Regions from separate parts of the Homo sapiens genome. Here region 2 is linked to region 1. Evidence: promoter capture Hi-C in 16 types of primary human blood cells and fetal thymus (Javierre and others, 2016). All regions are on one chromosome and are shown on one strand. Each heading gives the region's core, a stretch centred on a gene start or on the middle of the fragment in contact. The rest is flanking DNA. Distances are from core to core; before and after follow the strand shown.

The links. Contacts are between HindIII fragments. The CHiCAGO score rates a contact against its expected background, and 5 or more counts as called.
Region 2: the fragment with the promoter of TSPAN9 here is called in contact with the fragment with the promoter of CACNA1C-AS1 in region 1 in 6 of 17 cell types (fetal thymus, naive CD4 T cells, activated CD4 T cells and 3 more); the score reaches 7.9 in fetal thymus.

Annotation. Positions count from the first base shown.
Region 1 is chr12:2,685,844-2,692,949 of GRCh38, forward strand. It overlaps CACNA1C-AS1 (CACNA1C antisense RNA 1), which reads right to left and starts at 5,314. Exons shown (of 4, transcript NR_045725.1): 1 at 5,226-5,314; 2 at 4,964-5,136; 3 at 4,297-4,367. CACNA1C (calcium voltage-gated channel subunit alpha1 C) reads left to right here. Exons shown (of 47, transcript NM_000719.7): 45 at 323-426; 46 at 2,604-2,936; 47 at 5,057-7,106. The coding sequence ends at 5,356. RefSeq lists a silencer at 5,774-6,043. The HindIII fragment of the contact is 2,873 bases long and covers 4,220-7,092 here.
Region 2 is chr12:3,073,742-3,080,904 of GRCh38, forward strand. TSPAN9 (tetraspanin 9) reads left to right here and starts at 3,638. Exons shown (of 9, transcript NM_006675.5): 1 at 3,638-3,712. RefSeq lists silencers at 3,144-3,193, 3,244-3,743. The HindIII fragment of the contact is 2,240 bases long and covers 2,192-4,431 here.

The DNA.
Region 1 (7,106 bases), core at 4,064-6,563:
TAAATGCACCGCTCGCTCTCTGGATGTGGTCGGCGGTTACTCCCTAGAGAACACTGGTCAGGGATGATTGGGAAATCGTTGTGGCCTGCCTCAAATCAGCCCCACACAGTGGGGCATTTCCAAAGCAAGGAGACAACATTCCAAAGGCAGGGTGTGCAGGGATGAGCCCTGGACACCAGAATACGTCTCAGACGAGGGGAGGGGAAAGGAGGAGCGTCTCGGGCCATAGTTACTGCTCCTGGCACCCCACCAGGGTGTAAACTGTCACAGGCCAGTGCCCTGTTTTCCTGCCCTGATGGTGGCTCTCTGGCTGGCTTTGCAGGTCGAAGGGCCTCCTTCCACCTGGAATGTCTGAAGCGACAGAAGGACCGAGGGGGAGACATCTCTCAGAAGACAGTCCTGCCCTTGCATCTGGTTCATCATCAGGTAGCTCACACTTTTGGACAGGCCACTGTCACCTGCCAGCAGGCCAGACAGTCCCCAGGGTGACGGACAAATCCTGAAGACTTCAGTGGGTCTTGCCTGTCTCAGATGGCTGGCACGTCCTGCCCCTGCCCTAAGAGCCATCCCTGTAGGGCTTCACACTCCTGTGCAGGTGAGGGCCACGGCAAGGTCTGCAGCATCGCAGGTGGGGGCCTAGGAAGTGCTGGTGCACAGGAGCTCTTTGTGTGATCCTGAGGACCCACAGCTGCAGGTTCCACCTGAGCTTTCTTCTTAGGCTGCCACAGATGCCACTGACGCCTCTGACACTGGCCTATGCCTCAGGGCACTCAGGAAGATGTACTTGTACCTAGAGTTTGAATATACCTGGAAATTTTGCCACACAAAAATCCATCCAGTGACATAAAGAAGTGATTAAAGAACCCACCAGCAACATGGTCAAGAGTAGGGAATGACATCCGTGGGAAGCAGGTCCAGGGAGATTCCATAAATGAAATGTCTCTTGGCATGGCTGACTCCAGCTGAGACAGTGAAATCCAAGATGCCAGGACCAAACATGCCTTAGTATCTTTGAACTTCAGTGTTATCTAAGGCCAGTCTATTAACCCCAGGCAAACTGAGGTCTAAACCTGGGTTTCCCAACATTCTGACCTTATTAAAGTTATACTCTTTTATAGCATGGACCTATGTTTTAAATAGACCTATGCTTTGTACCCAAAGGCATTCAACTGCCAATCAAAAGTCATAATCAGCATGAGATGGCCAGTGTGGCCTGGCTGAGTTGATAGTACTTCAGCTCCAAAAAATAAACAGGTTTTCTTAGCCTGTGTGGTGTTGTCTTCCACTGGGCTTTCTGAAATAATGAATATGGCCTTACACTTTTCTCAGATTCCCAGGGACCCAGGAGCCCCAGGCTGAGGACCACCATGGGCAGGGGCAGGAGGTGGAAGGATGTGGGGACACTGTGTGTGCTATCTTAAAAGATTTCTAGAAGTCGATTTCACCTATCTGTTCTTGTCGTACTGGTAGGCACGAAACTCTCCTCTTCATCTCTTTCTCCTCCTGTACTCTGTGACCCTAGAGGTGGTCTTTCCCCACCACAGTGTCGCTCTCTCCCGGGAGCACATCCCATCAGAGCAGCTCACCCTGCAGAGCCTCTGCCCTGGCAGGTTGTCATGGCAACAGCCAGACAGGCCTGGTCCCTACCCTCAGGATGCTCAAGAATATTCAGGGACAGAGGGCGTACCGTGTGACTTTTTTTTTTTTTTTTTTGAGACAGAGTTTTGCTCTTGTTGCCCAGGCTGGAGTGCAATGGCACGATCTCGGCTCACCACAACCTCCACCTCCCGGGTTCAAGTGATTCTCCTGCCTCAGCCTCCCAAGTAGCTGGGATTACAGGCATGCACCACCATGCCTGGCTAATTTTGCATTTGTAGTAGAGACTGGGTTACTCCGTGTTGGTCAGGCTGGTCTTGAACTCCCGACCTCAGGTGATCTGCCCGCCTTGGCCTCCCAAAGTCCTGGGATTACAGGCATGAGCCACTGCTCCCAGCCCTGAATCTTTTAATCACAATACAGCACCGGATTTAACAATGGCTCAAAGACAACCTGAGCTAGAGACTGGCAGGGCATTATGAATGGCCCCATTAACTGTGAGAACTAAAACCACAAATACTGGTTTTCCCAACTCTTTGTGAGGTGCACAGCGCTTCTTCACAGACCTCATTGCGCTTGAGCCTCACACCAGCCCCACAGGGCAGATGGATAGACAGCATTCGTTTTCTGGCTTTACAGACATGCAGGCCTCACCCTGCTCTCCATTCTATTGAGGACAAAACCAAGAGCGAGAGAATGCACAGCTGACAGGTGACCAGGCCAGGGCTAAAAGCAGGTTACCACGACTTCACCCAATCCCAGCTTTCAGAAGTTACAGGAGAAAGAGATCACTTCAGACCCAGATGATCCTAAGATGTATTTTGAGATAGTTGAAAGTCATGCCAGGTTGAGATAGGACCGACAGGGGAAAATAATGGCATGGGAATACCAGGCAGGTGGAGCTAGCTGGACACAGCAGCTGCAAAGCAGTGCTTGCTCAGAAGCAGGGGCCTGCCTTGTTTGGGGTCGGCCACTCCTATTAACTCACACTCCTTGTGTGTCCGCAGGCATTGGCAGTGGCAGGCCTGAGCCCCCTCCTCCAGAGAAGCCATTCCCCTGCCTCATTCCCTAGGCCTTTTGCCACCCCACCAGCCACACCTGGCAGCCGAGGCTGGCCCCCACAGCCCGTCCCCACCCTGCGGCTTGAGGGGGTCGAGTCCAGTGAGAAACTCAACAGCAGCTTCCCATCCATCCACTGCGGCTCCTGGGCTGAGACCACCCCCGGTGGCGGGGGCAGCAGCGCCGCCCGGAGAGTCCGGCCCGTCTCCCTCATGGTGCCCAGCCAGGCTGGGGCCCCAGGGAGGCAGTTCCACGGCAGTGCCAGCAGCCTGGTGGAAGCGGTAGGTGACTCGCAGATGGGCAGGGGGGAGAGGCCACGGGCAACAAGGGGACTTGGCATGCGGGGCTGAGAAGGGAGCACCTGGCTCTTGCCAAATTCATTGCAGTCAATATCTGAGCCCGAAAGACCCTCCCTCTCAGGGCTGCAGGAGGGCTCGTGTGCGGAAAGCCATGACTGCACAAGATGCTATGGGCTCTCTTGAGGCTGGGCCCACTGCAGAGGGCGGCAGAAACCACTGAGCAACTTATCCCTTATACTGCAGCTGCTCGACATGCAAATGTGAGCCTGGCTGCCTTTATACACAGACAGGCAAGATCCAAGGTGCTCAGGCCTGACTGCCCGTGAGCATCACCTGGGGAGCTTTGGAAACCCGGGACAGATTAACTGATGATTGTTAAAGCTCTTCGATGATTTTAACGTGTAGCAAGGTTGAGAGCCACTAGCCTAGAACAAGCGAGCTTTCAGTCCCACTGTGCTCTGCCTGGTCAGAGCATCTAGTGCAATCCCGGCACCACATTATTAGGGACCTTTGACACACTGGAACAAACCCAACAGAGGATGACCAGGATGGCAAGGTTCCTAGAAACCATTTCCTAGGAGAACCGTTTCAGGGAATTCGGGAAGAAAACCTGGAGAGGAGGTGACTTTGGAGGGTGCGATACACCTCTCACACCTGCAACGGGTGGGATGGGGAAAGGGTGGCAGGCTCAGCCCACCAGCGGACAGATTTCAGCTCACATGGGGAAGACCTTCCCAAATGAGCTCTTCCAAGATGAGAGGGGCTTGCCTGAAAGGTAGTGAGCCCCCCATCATCAGACATAGCCAAGCAGAGACTGTGCTCATCCGGGCGTCAGGCTGTGGTGCAGGAGGTGGGGCGTTAAACCAGGTGGCTTCCAAGGTTTACCTCTCAAAGTCTGGTATTCCTGTGGCCTCGATCATCCTGCATTCATTTCACAGACCTTCCCTGAGCGCCTACCATGTGCAGGCCCTGTTCTAGGTACAGGGACACAGCTGAGAAACAGAGCTTCTGCTCTCATGAGCTCACATCATGGTGAGGAGAGACAGATAATAAACACATACATATATAACACATCAGGAAGGTCAGGAGTGCCAAAGAAAAACTAAGCAGGGCAAGGAGAGAATGAGTGGCGTGGGCAAGGAGCAAGACAAACAGATGCCTGAAAGGAGCGAGTGCCAGGCTGCACTCAGCTTCCCCCGACCCGCTGGCTCAGGAGCCGATTTTCCCATAGCCAGGCACTAAGCAGCCGGTAGGGAGGACAGAGAAGCTTAAGGGTCACCTGCTGGCCCTTCCCAGCAGAAGCAAGGCAGGGGCATGCGCCGTGTTTGCACAGATACCTCACCCCTGGAAAGGCAGCAGCAGGCAATGGGCAGTGGGCCTGTCTCAGCAGTTTCACCAGGGAGAATGGTTTCTCTGAAAGAATAGTATAAAGGTTCAGTGGGTGTCAGAAAGGAGAGAGGCAGGCTGGGATCTGCTGATACAGCATCAGGGCAACCCCCCGGCCCCTCTGAGAGCCAAACCTTCTCTGGTTTTTGTTTTGGTTGTTTTTTGAGACAGGGTCTCGCTCTGTCACCCAGGCTGGAGTGTAGTGGTACAATCACAGCTCAGTGCAGCCTGGCGCTGCTGGGGTCAAATGATCCTCCCACCTCAGTCTCTGGCCTTGCTAAGATCACAGGTGTGCATCACCACACCCAGCTAATTATTCTTAAATTTTTTGTAGAGACGAAGTTTCCCTGTGTTGCCTGGGCCTGGTCTCGAACTCCTGGGCTCAAGCAGTCCTTCTGCCTGGGCTTCCCAAAGTGCTGGGTGACAGGTGTGAGCCACCGTGCTGGGCCATAAGCAAGTCTTCATATATTTGATGACAGTGTTTGACCACCCCAGCCAAAACTTCTCTGGCCTGCACATCCCTAATTCTGGCAGATGCTCCATCTCCACTTGTTCCCCATGGGTGCCCCTCCCAACACACACACGTACACGTGCACACACGCACACTTCCCCAAGTGACCTACCAGATACCCCCTCGCTCTAGCCCTCAAGGGAAGAGCTGGGCTCCAGGAGTAATGTTCCTTTGGTTCTTCATGGCTCCCACCCCGCTCCTTCAGGTCTTGATTTCAGAAGGACTGGGGCAGTTTGCTCAAGATCCCAAGTTCATCGAGGTCACCACCCAGGAGCTGGCCGACGCCTGCGACATGACCATAGAGGAGATGGAGAGCGCGGCCGACAACATCCTCAGCGGGGGCGCCCCACAGAGCCCCAATGGCGCCCTCTTACCCTTTGTGAACTGCAGGGACGCGGGGCAGGACCGAGCCGGGGGCGAAGAGGACGCGGGCTGTGTGCGCGCGCGGGGTCGACCGAGTGAGGAGGAGCTCCAGGACAGCAGGGTCTACGTCAGCAGCCTGTAGTGGGCGCTGCCAGATGCGGGCTTTTTTTTATTTGTTTCAATGTTCCTAATGGGTTCGTTTCAGAAGTGCCTCACTGTTCTCGTGACCTGGAGTTAACCGGAACAGCGTCTTCATTCATTTCTGTTGGGACCAGACGCGGAGCCTGGGTGCGCGAGCCGCCCTCCGGGAGGAAGGCGCCCGGCTGCGTCTGCAGAGGCGGGGAGAGGAGGCGGCGAGGGTCCCGGGGCGCGAGGAAGGCGCCTGCCCTCTCCCAGCTCGCAGGCCCCGGGCCCGGCCGCGCCTCCGCGGGGAGAGCACCCCGGCTTCCCGCGCGCCCTCACCAAAAGGACCCTACAGCAAACGGGTGTCTTTCGACTCTGCTTGTAGAAACCATTTGCACATATTCTGTACGAGCCTCGCTGTCTCCCTAGAGCCAGGGCCCTGCGGATTTGGAGAAGGGAGCGGGGCAGGACTTCCAGGAGGACCCCAACCCGGCCCGGAGAGGGAGGAGGAGGCCTCCAGGGGCGCGGAGCTCTGGGGATGGGCGTCGGGCCGGCAGTGGTGCGGCTCACTCCGTCCCTGCCCACCTGCGACGGGATCCCCCGACCGGCACGGGCCACGCCGAGCTCCCGGCCAGCCGCCGGCCCGCAGGCAGCGCGAGGGAGGAGCTGCGCCGCCGGCTCCGCCCAACCAGGTGGTGCTGAGCTTCCGCTGAGCGCTCTTTTGTTTTGTGGTTTGACACTTTTCTTGACAGCATGTTGCAGTTTCTTTTCGGTTTTGGTTTTTTTTAAATGTTTTATTTTGCTTTCCCAGCGGGAGGGGAGGAAGAAGAGTGTTTACAAAGTCCTGTAGCCCCCTCACCTTTCTGTTTTCACTTTTGCCAATGTACATCGGGTTTGGTTTTCTTGTATTATTTAAACGGTTGTGGTTTCCTTTTTCCACGGAGGTTCAATAGAAGCCGCTGCAGGAGAGTTTTACCAACCATTGTGTATGCCCAATAATTTGTTATCATTTCCTTAGGTAGTAACCTATTTTTGTTCTGGTTTGGTTCGGTTATCTAATGGAAAGGTAACTGGCAATGCACTTGATGTGGTCTTGCACATGTGGGTGATAGAGTTGGGTTCCTTTTTATGCTGGGTGTACAGGTGGGTTTGGGAGAGAGGAGCATGCGCGAGAGAGTCTCCGAGTGTGTGCGACGCGTGTGTGTGTGGTGGGTTGTCTGTGTGCATATGTCCTGCCCGTGTATATGCACCCACACCATGTGCCCGTGCACACCAGTGACTACGCAGTCCCCCCTTTCTGGTTTAGCTGTGGGAAGATCTGAATCTGGGGCCGTTTGAAAGCAAAAACAAACCACTGTCTCTGCTTCTGAAACGGGAATCAGTAACTCTTTGCATTTTCTGTCCCACAAGATATGCAAAAACAATGCAATAATATTCATTTAAAAATACAATTGTGAGTTGTGTTGGCATTAAAACTGTATTTTAAAAAAAGACAGAAATTTAAGGGAAAAACACAAGAAGGCATTTTGCTTCAATATATTCCGTGTAATGTTTTATTGCATTGATAATGTTTCTGTTGAAGAAACCGTTATACTTGAATTCAGGTCAGTTTCAGTATTTTTCAAATATTTTTTTAAAACTGAATTGCAATTGTGCCAAGCGAATATAATGAATTGAATTAAGTTGGTTTTCGGATTCACTTCTTGTATATTTTGCTGCATGTAAAGTAAATCATTTTGTATTTGGAGTGTGACAAGCTTTACCTTTGA
Region 2 (7,163 bases), core at 2,388-4,887, 390 kb after region 1:
AATTCCAGCAGAGTTGCTGACATCCAGGCCTGGAAGGAGCTGTTTGGAGTCCTGCCTTTGTTCACAGTTAAAATGGCATATAATTTATCATCCACGCCAGGATATTTCGAGAGTGAAAGGGGACTTAGGAACTATGCCAGGACAAGAGGAGTAAGTAGGATGTGCCCCCGAAACCTGGATACAGTCACCCTACCTATATCTAACCTCAGCATTTTTCAGAATCTCCTCCAGAAGGGAAATGCAATGACATTTCCTCAGAAGCCTGGTATGATAAGCAGTGACTTCATGCGTTTGTAAGTCCCTTCCCCAAGAGGGTGGTGCGTCATTGTCAGGTTTACTTGCGTTTAGTCCTCAGTGGACACTATCAGTGTGTCTGCTTCACAGACCACTAGTCACCTTTGTGTCCTTTATGCTGAATAATCCCATCTCCTCTACAGCTTTTCTTCAGAGCTTCCTTCCAACTGTCAGCCCCTCAGAGGCACTGAGGCATTCACCTCTGAATGTGGTGAAGGAGAGTGAGCAGTGAAGCCATTTTCTGGGCTATTGCTGAGGGATTTCTTCTAAGATTTCATCTATCTCTAAGACTTCAGAATTCCATTATTTCAGATTTGCTCTAATTAATTAATTAATTTGAGACAGAGTCTCACTCTGTCACCCAGGCTGGAGAGCAGTGGTATAATCATGGTTCACTGCAGCCTTGACCTCCTGGGCTCAAGCAATCCTCTCACCTCAGCCTCCCGTACAGGCATGTGCCACCACGCCCATGCACACCTGGCTAATTTTTGTATTTTTAGTAGAGATGGGGTTTTGCCATGTTGGCCAGGCTGGTCTCGAACTCCTGGGCTTGAGTGATCCACCTGCCTTGGCCTCCCAAAGTGCTGGGATGACAGGTGTGAGCCACTGTGCTCCGCCTATCTTTTTTTAAAGGGCAGGAGGACTTTGGGAGGCCAAGGTGGGAGGATTGCTTGAGGCCAGGAGTTCAAAACTAGCTTGAGCAACATAGTGAGGCCTCTGTCTCTACAAAACAAAACGAAAACGAAAACAAAAACAAAAACAAAACAAACAAAAACCCCAATTAGCTGGGTATGGTGGCATGCACGTGTGGTCCCAGCTACTTAGGAGTCTGAGGTTGGAGGATCCTTGAGTCCAGGAGTTGGAGGCTGCAGTGAGCCATGATGGCACCACTGCCCTCCAGCCTGGGTGGCAGAACAAGTCCCTGTCTCAAAAACAACAAAACAAAACAAAAACCAAAAAGGGCAGGAGGAAGCTAGCATTTGTAGAGCAGTCACCACACATCACATGTTGTGCTTTTACTCCATCATCTTGGTCAGCCCATCAACCCTGTGGAATTGGTTTTTTTTTTTTTTTTTTTTTGAGACAGTCTCGCTCTGTCGACCAGGCTGGAGTGCAGTGGCACGATCTTGGCTCACTGCAACCTCCGTCTCCCAGGCTCAAGCAATTCTCCTGCCTCAGCCCTCCGAGTAGCTGGGATTACAGGCATGTGCCACCACACCCGGCTAATTTTTGTATTTTTAGTGGAGACGGGGTTTCACCATGTTGGCCAGGCTGGTCTCAAACTCCTGATCTCAGGTAATCCACCCGCCTCGGCCTCCCTAAGTACTGGGATTACAGGTGTGAGCCACCATGCCCATCCCCATAATTGGTATTCTTATGCCCCATTCCACAGGTGAGAAAACAGGCCTGAAGAGGTCCCAGCCGATAAAAGCAGAGCCAGGATTCAGACAGGTGTGTCTGGCTCCCAAGCCCTGCGGCTACTCCCTCACCAGGCTGCGTCCAATGGTCTGCCAGTGAGTTGGCTTGCTGGCAGACAATCCTAGTATATCTCTTTCCCTGTCTGAGACCCAGTTTCCTTTTCTGGGTACATGTACCCAACTCTGCCGCAGTGACTGGAGAGATTGGGGCTGGTGGGGGTTCCTTGGGAAGACTTTGTTATAGGGGCATTGAACAGGGCTTTGGATGAAGCAAAATGTAGAAGGAGAATATTTTCCTTGTGGGGAAAGGGAGATCAGAAGGAAATGGGTTATGGGTTTAGTCTAATAGACAAAAACAAGGTTGCATGTGTGTGACGGAAAGGGGCCCAGAAGATGAGTGGAAACTTCCAGTCTAATTAGCAGAAAGCAAAAGTGACCCTAGTGATTATAGCCAGGTTTTAAAAACTTGTCCCCAGTCAAGCTTAGTGCAATGGTAGGGCACGTGGGAAGCACAGCATACAGTTTCTTTAAAATTTAAAAAAATTTCACTTTTAAAGACAGGGTCTCCCTCTACTGCCCAGGCTGGAGTACAGTGGCATGATCCTAGTTTACTGCAGCCTCCAACGCCTGAGCCTCAGCCTCCGGAGCAGCTGGGACTACAGGGGTGTGCCACCACACCCGGTTAATTAAAACATTTTTTTTTTGAGATGGGGTTTCCCTATGTTGCCCAGGCTGTTCTTGAATTCCTGAGTTCCTGAGCTCAAGCAATCCTTCCACCTGGGCCCCCCAAAGTCCTGGGATTACACGCGTGAGCCACCACACCTGGCCTAGAAGACATTTTTGATGACAGTAATGATGAGAAGAGATGGCGTTTTAGTGCTCTTTGGAAACAAGTTTAGGCCTTCTAGCTTTAAGAATCCGGGCCTATAATCCCAGCACTTTGGGAGGCAGAGGCAGGAGGATGGCTTGAGCCCGGGAGTTTGAGACCAGCTTGGGCCCAGGGAGACCACCGTCTGTACAAAAAAAATCAAAAACTTCGCCGGACGTGGTGGTGCGCGCCTACAGTCCCAACTACTCTGGAGGCTGAGGCGGGATCACTTGAGCCCGGGAAGTCGAGGCTGCAGTGAGCCGTGATCGCACCACTGCACTCCTGCCTGGGCAACAGAGTGAGTCCTTGTCTCAAGAAAAAACAAAACAAAACAAAAAGCAAAAAACACATAAAATCCAGGCCTGAAAAAGCGCCCGGGCCAGACATGCCTAGCTGGAGTTTCTCCTGCCTTAGCGCACCCCTCAGGCACACGGTGCCCTGTAGTCGCCCTTGGAGGCCGCCAGCTCCTGGGGAGGCATGGCCCTTTCTGCGGGAGGTGTCTCAGGCAGGCTCCAACACACACCCGCGCTGTCAGCATCTCGCACAGTCCGCCCGAAACACCAGGGAAGGGGTTCGTAGGTGTGGGGGTGGGGTGGCGAGGCCAGGCAGCCTGGCGCGAGGGAGAGAGCCGAGGCCTGGGCCAGGAAGGCCCTTGGGTGCCGTGTGGGCGCAGAGCCCAGGAGAGCGCACTGCCAGGCCCGGACCTCCCCGCCCCTACCCCGGGAAGAGGCCCGTTCGCCGCAGGGGGAAGGCGGGATCATAGCACCTCGGAGGAGCGGCCGGTCCGGGCATGCGGGCGGCGGGGCGGGGAGGGAGGCTTCCGGAACCCCGAGAGAGCACCCGTGCCTCGCGGGCCCCGTGCCCCGTCCCCGGGCTCCCCTTCCTCTAACGCAGGGGACCCAGCCCGGGGCAGTGCCGGGCACTGGCGCTGGCGCCCCGCTCAGCCCTGCGATCCTTCTCCGCCCCGCCCCTCCCCGCTCCGCCCCGCCCCTCCCCGCTCCGCCCCCGGGCCGCCCCGCCCCGCAGGCTCGCCATTCCCGGGCAGGCCCCGCCCCCTGTTTCCGCTGGCGGCGGCGGCGGCGGCGGTGCCGGAGCGCGAGCAGAGCGGAGACCCCCAGGTCCTGCGGGCGCGGTGAGTGCGGCCCGGGCGGCGGGCGGCGAGGCGGGTCTCGAGAGCGTGCGGAGTCGCGCGGCCTTGAGCCGGCGCCGGGCGGGCTGGGCACCCCCAGGCCGAGACCCGAGAAGGGGGAGCGGCCGGGGGCGCCCACGGGAGGCAGTGTGGGCAGGGCGGCGGTGGGACGAGAGGACGAGGAACAGAGTAGGCGCCGTGCGGGAAGCGGGCCGGGAAGGGGAGGGTGGGTGCGGGGCCCGGGCACCGAGCGAAGTGGGGTCCTCCAGGGGATGGCTCCGAGGAAGACCGTTTCAGAAAGGGAGTAACCCGGGGCCGGCAAGGGTTTCCGACTGTGTGACCCCGTGCACCGCTTGGGACAGTCCATACAAGGACCCCAGAGAGGGCCAGGGGGCCTTCGGGCAGGGCTGGGATATGGCCTGCAGCCCCCCGGCACCCGCGACCGCTCCCTGGGCCACTGCTGGAAGATCAGCACTCCGAGTGACAGGACTCTGGCACATCCCGAAGTTGGAGATCTAGCCCATCTGTGCATTCAAGTTTGGGACTTCAAAAAACTTTCTTGTGGTTTTTAAAAAAAGATCCAAACAAGAAACCGGCTTGTTGTTGTAAGAGCAATATTTGTACTTGTACATCTTGGAACTGGAGTCTTGGATCTCCTCCCTCTTTGAAAAATATACGAGTCACTGCTTCATCTTCCCCCAAATGCCTGTTTTGTCTGGGGAAGCTTGGGCTAGTATGGGATCCCCTGAGCTACCTTTTTCTCGCATCACCAAAACGGGGGGTAAGAAGGCAGGGGCTTACCTGCCTTACCTGGTAACTCTTAGTTCAGAGACCCAGTCTCTCATTATGTGCGCGTGCCCTTCTGACCTGCAGCTGTCCTTTTCCCTGGGGTGACTCAGGTATTTCCTCCTCCAGGAAGCTTTCCTGGACTAGTGGAGAAAACTGAAGACTCATGCGAGGATCCCTATATATACCTGCCAGCTCCCTTCTCTTTACTGAAAATAGCCACAGAGAATGTTGAATATATGCTTTGCTATAGAGATACGCAGCCAGCTTGCCATCATAAGTAATGGGGAGGGGAGGAGAGGGATTATGGATAATTTCAAACAATAGCCTGGACAAATCATTTATATTTAGCTAAGGAATGCAGCCAGAGAGGCAGACAATTACACCGGCTTCCTACCCTCGGCTTGGTCCTGGCATGGCTGATGCAGCTGGGCTGTGGGTTGGAGGGAGAGGATTGGGGTAGATAAAACTTGAAGTGTAATTCAGTTCTACTCTCACTCACTGAAGACGCCCTGTGTGCAAGTCCCTGAACAGGTGAGAGTAGGATTTTTTTTTTTTTGGTCTGGTTTAATCAGATTTTAATATTCTGGCAGAGCTTTTTAAACCTATGAACAGATATTTAATATTAATAACAATAACTAGTGTTGATAAAGTAATTTATAGTTGGCCAAGTTTTTTCTATGCACGTTACATTAGCTGTATATAATTTTATTTAATTCATACGTAATCTTGTGAAATTTGTTACTTTTTTTTTTTTTTTTGAGACAGAGTCTCACTCTGTTGCCCAGGCTGGAGTGCAGTGGCAGGATCTCAGCTCACTGCAACCCCCGCGTCCCAGGTTCAAGCCATTCTCCTGCCTCAGCCTCCCGAGTAGCTGGGATTACAGGCGCGTGCCGCCACGCCTTCTAATTTTTGTATTTTTAGTAGAGATGAGGTTTTGCCATGTTGACCAGGCTGGTCTTGAACTCCTGACCTCAAGTGATCCACCTGCCTTGGCCTCCCACAGTGCTGGGATTATAGGCGTGAGCCACCGCATTGGCTGAAGTTTGTTACTTTTAATTGCCTTCTTATAGGTTAAGAAAATGATACTCAGAGAGAATAAGTATCTTATCTAAGGTCACAACACTCATTAAGTGAAAGAAGCAAAACTTGAACCCTGGCTTCTGACCTTCCTGCCTTGTGCCATCTATTCTGCCATCTGCCTCTCTGCCCTTCTTCTATTTTATTTATTTATTTTTTTCTGAGACAGACTTTTGCTTTTGTTGCCCAGGCTGGAGTGCGATGGCACTATCTCGGCTCACTGCAACCTCTGCCTACTGGGTTCAAGTGATTCTCCTGCCTCAACCTCCCAAGTAACTGGGATTACAGGTGCCCGCCACCACACCTGGCTAATTTTTGTATTTTTAGTAGAGATGGAGTTTCGCCATGTTGGCCAGACTGGTCTCAAACTCCTGACCTCAGGTGATCCGCCTGCCTTGGCCTCCCAAAGTGCTGGGATTACAGGCATGAACCACCGTACTTAGCCCCTTCTTCTATTTTTTTTTTTTTTTTTTAGAGACAGGGTCTTGCTTTGTTGCCTGGGCTGGAGCACAGGGACACAAGCAGCTCACTGCAGCCTCCAACTCCTGGGCTCAAGTGATCCTCCCACCTTAGCCTCCCGAGTAGCTGGGACTATAGGTACAGGCCCCATGCTCAGATAATTAAAAAAATTTTTTTTTTTTTTTTGGTAGAGACAGGGTTGTGCTATGTTGCCCAGGCTGGTCTCTGGTCTTGAACTCCTGGCCTCAAGCAATTCTCCTACCTTGGCCTCCCAAAGTGTTGGGATTACAGGCGTGAGCCACCACGCCCAGCCCCTTTCCTCTATGTTGAGCCTTGTCTTCACCTGGCACCACCTATTTGTGCAACCTTGGGCAATTTACCTCCTCTTTCCAACTCTCTGTTTTGGTGGTATATTGGATTAGAAATATTCTAGAGTCTCTTCCAGCATCAGATAATTAACAGTGTAAGATATTGGCAGCCACTCAATCAATTAGGAAGTGTGCTTTATATAAAAAATTCTAAAATTGTGGTTAAAAAAACACTGAATGTAAAATCTTTTTTTTGTTGTTGTTGTTTTTGAGATGGAGTCTCACTCTGTCGCCCAGGCTGGAGTGCAGTGGCATAATCACAGCTCACTGCAACCTCCGCCTCCCGGGTTCAAGCAATTCTCTGCCTCAGCCTCCCCAGTAGCTGGGACTACAGGCGCCCGCCATCACCCTCGGCTAAATTTTGTATTTTTTTTAGTAGAGACGGGGTTTCACCATGTTGGCCAGGCTGGTCTTGAACTCCTGACCTCATGATCCACCCTCCTCGGCCCCAAAAAGTGCTGGGATTACAAGCATGAGCCACCGCGCCTGGCAAATGTAAAATCTTAAGTGTACATTTTAACCATTCTTAAATGTACAGTTCAGTAGCATTAAGTCTATTTACATTGTTGTGCGACAGCTCCAGAAATTACCTTGTAAAACTGAAGCTTTAATATTCTTGAAACAACTGTTTCCCCCTCCTCCCAGCCTCTGGCAGCCACTATTCTGTCTGTTTAGTGTGCTTTATTAAGCTCCTGCTGTGTGCTTAGTAAATGCTGACCTTGAGGAATTAATCGGGAGAGTTGTGGAGAAGCAGCCCAGCT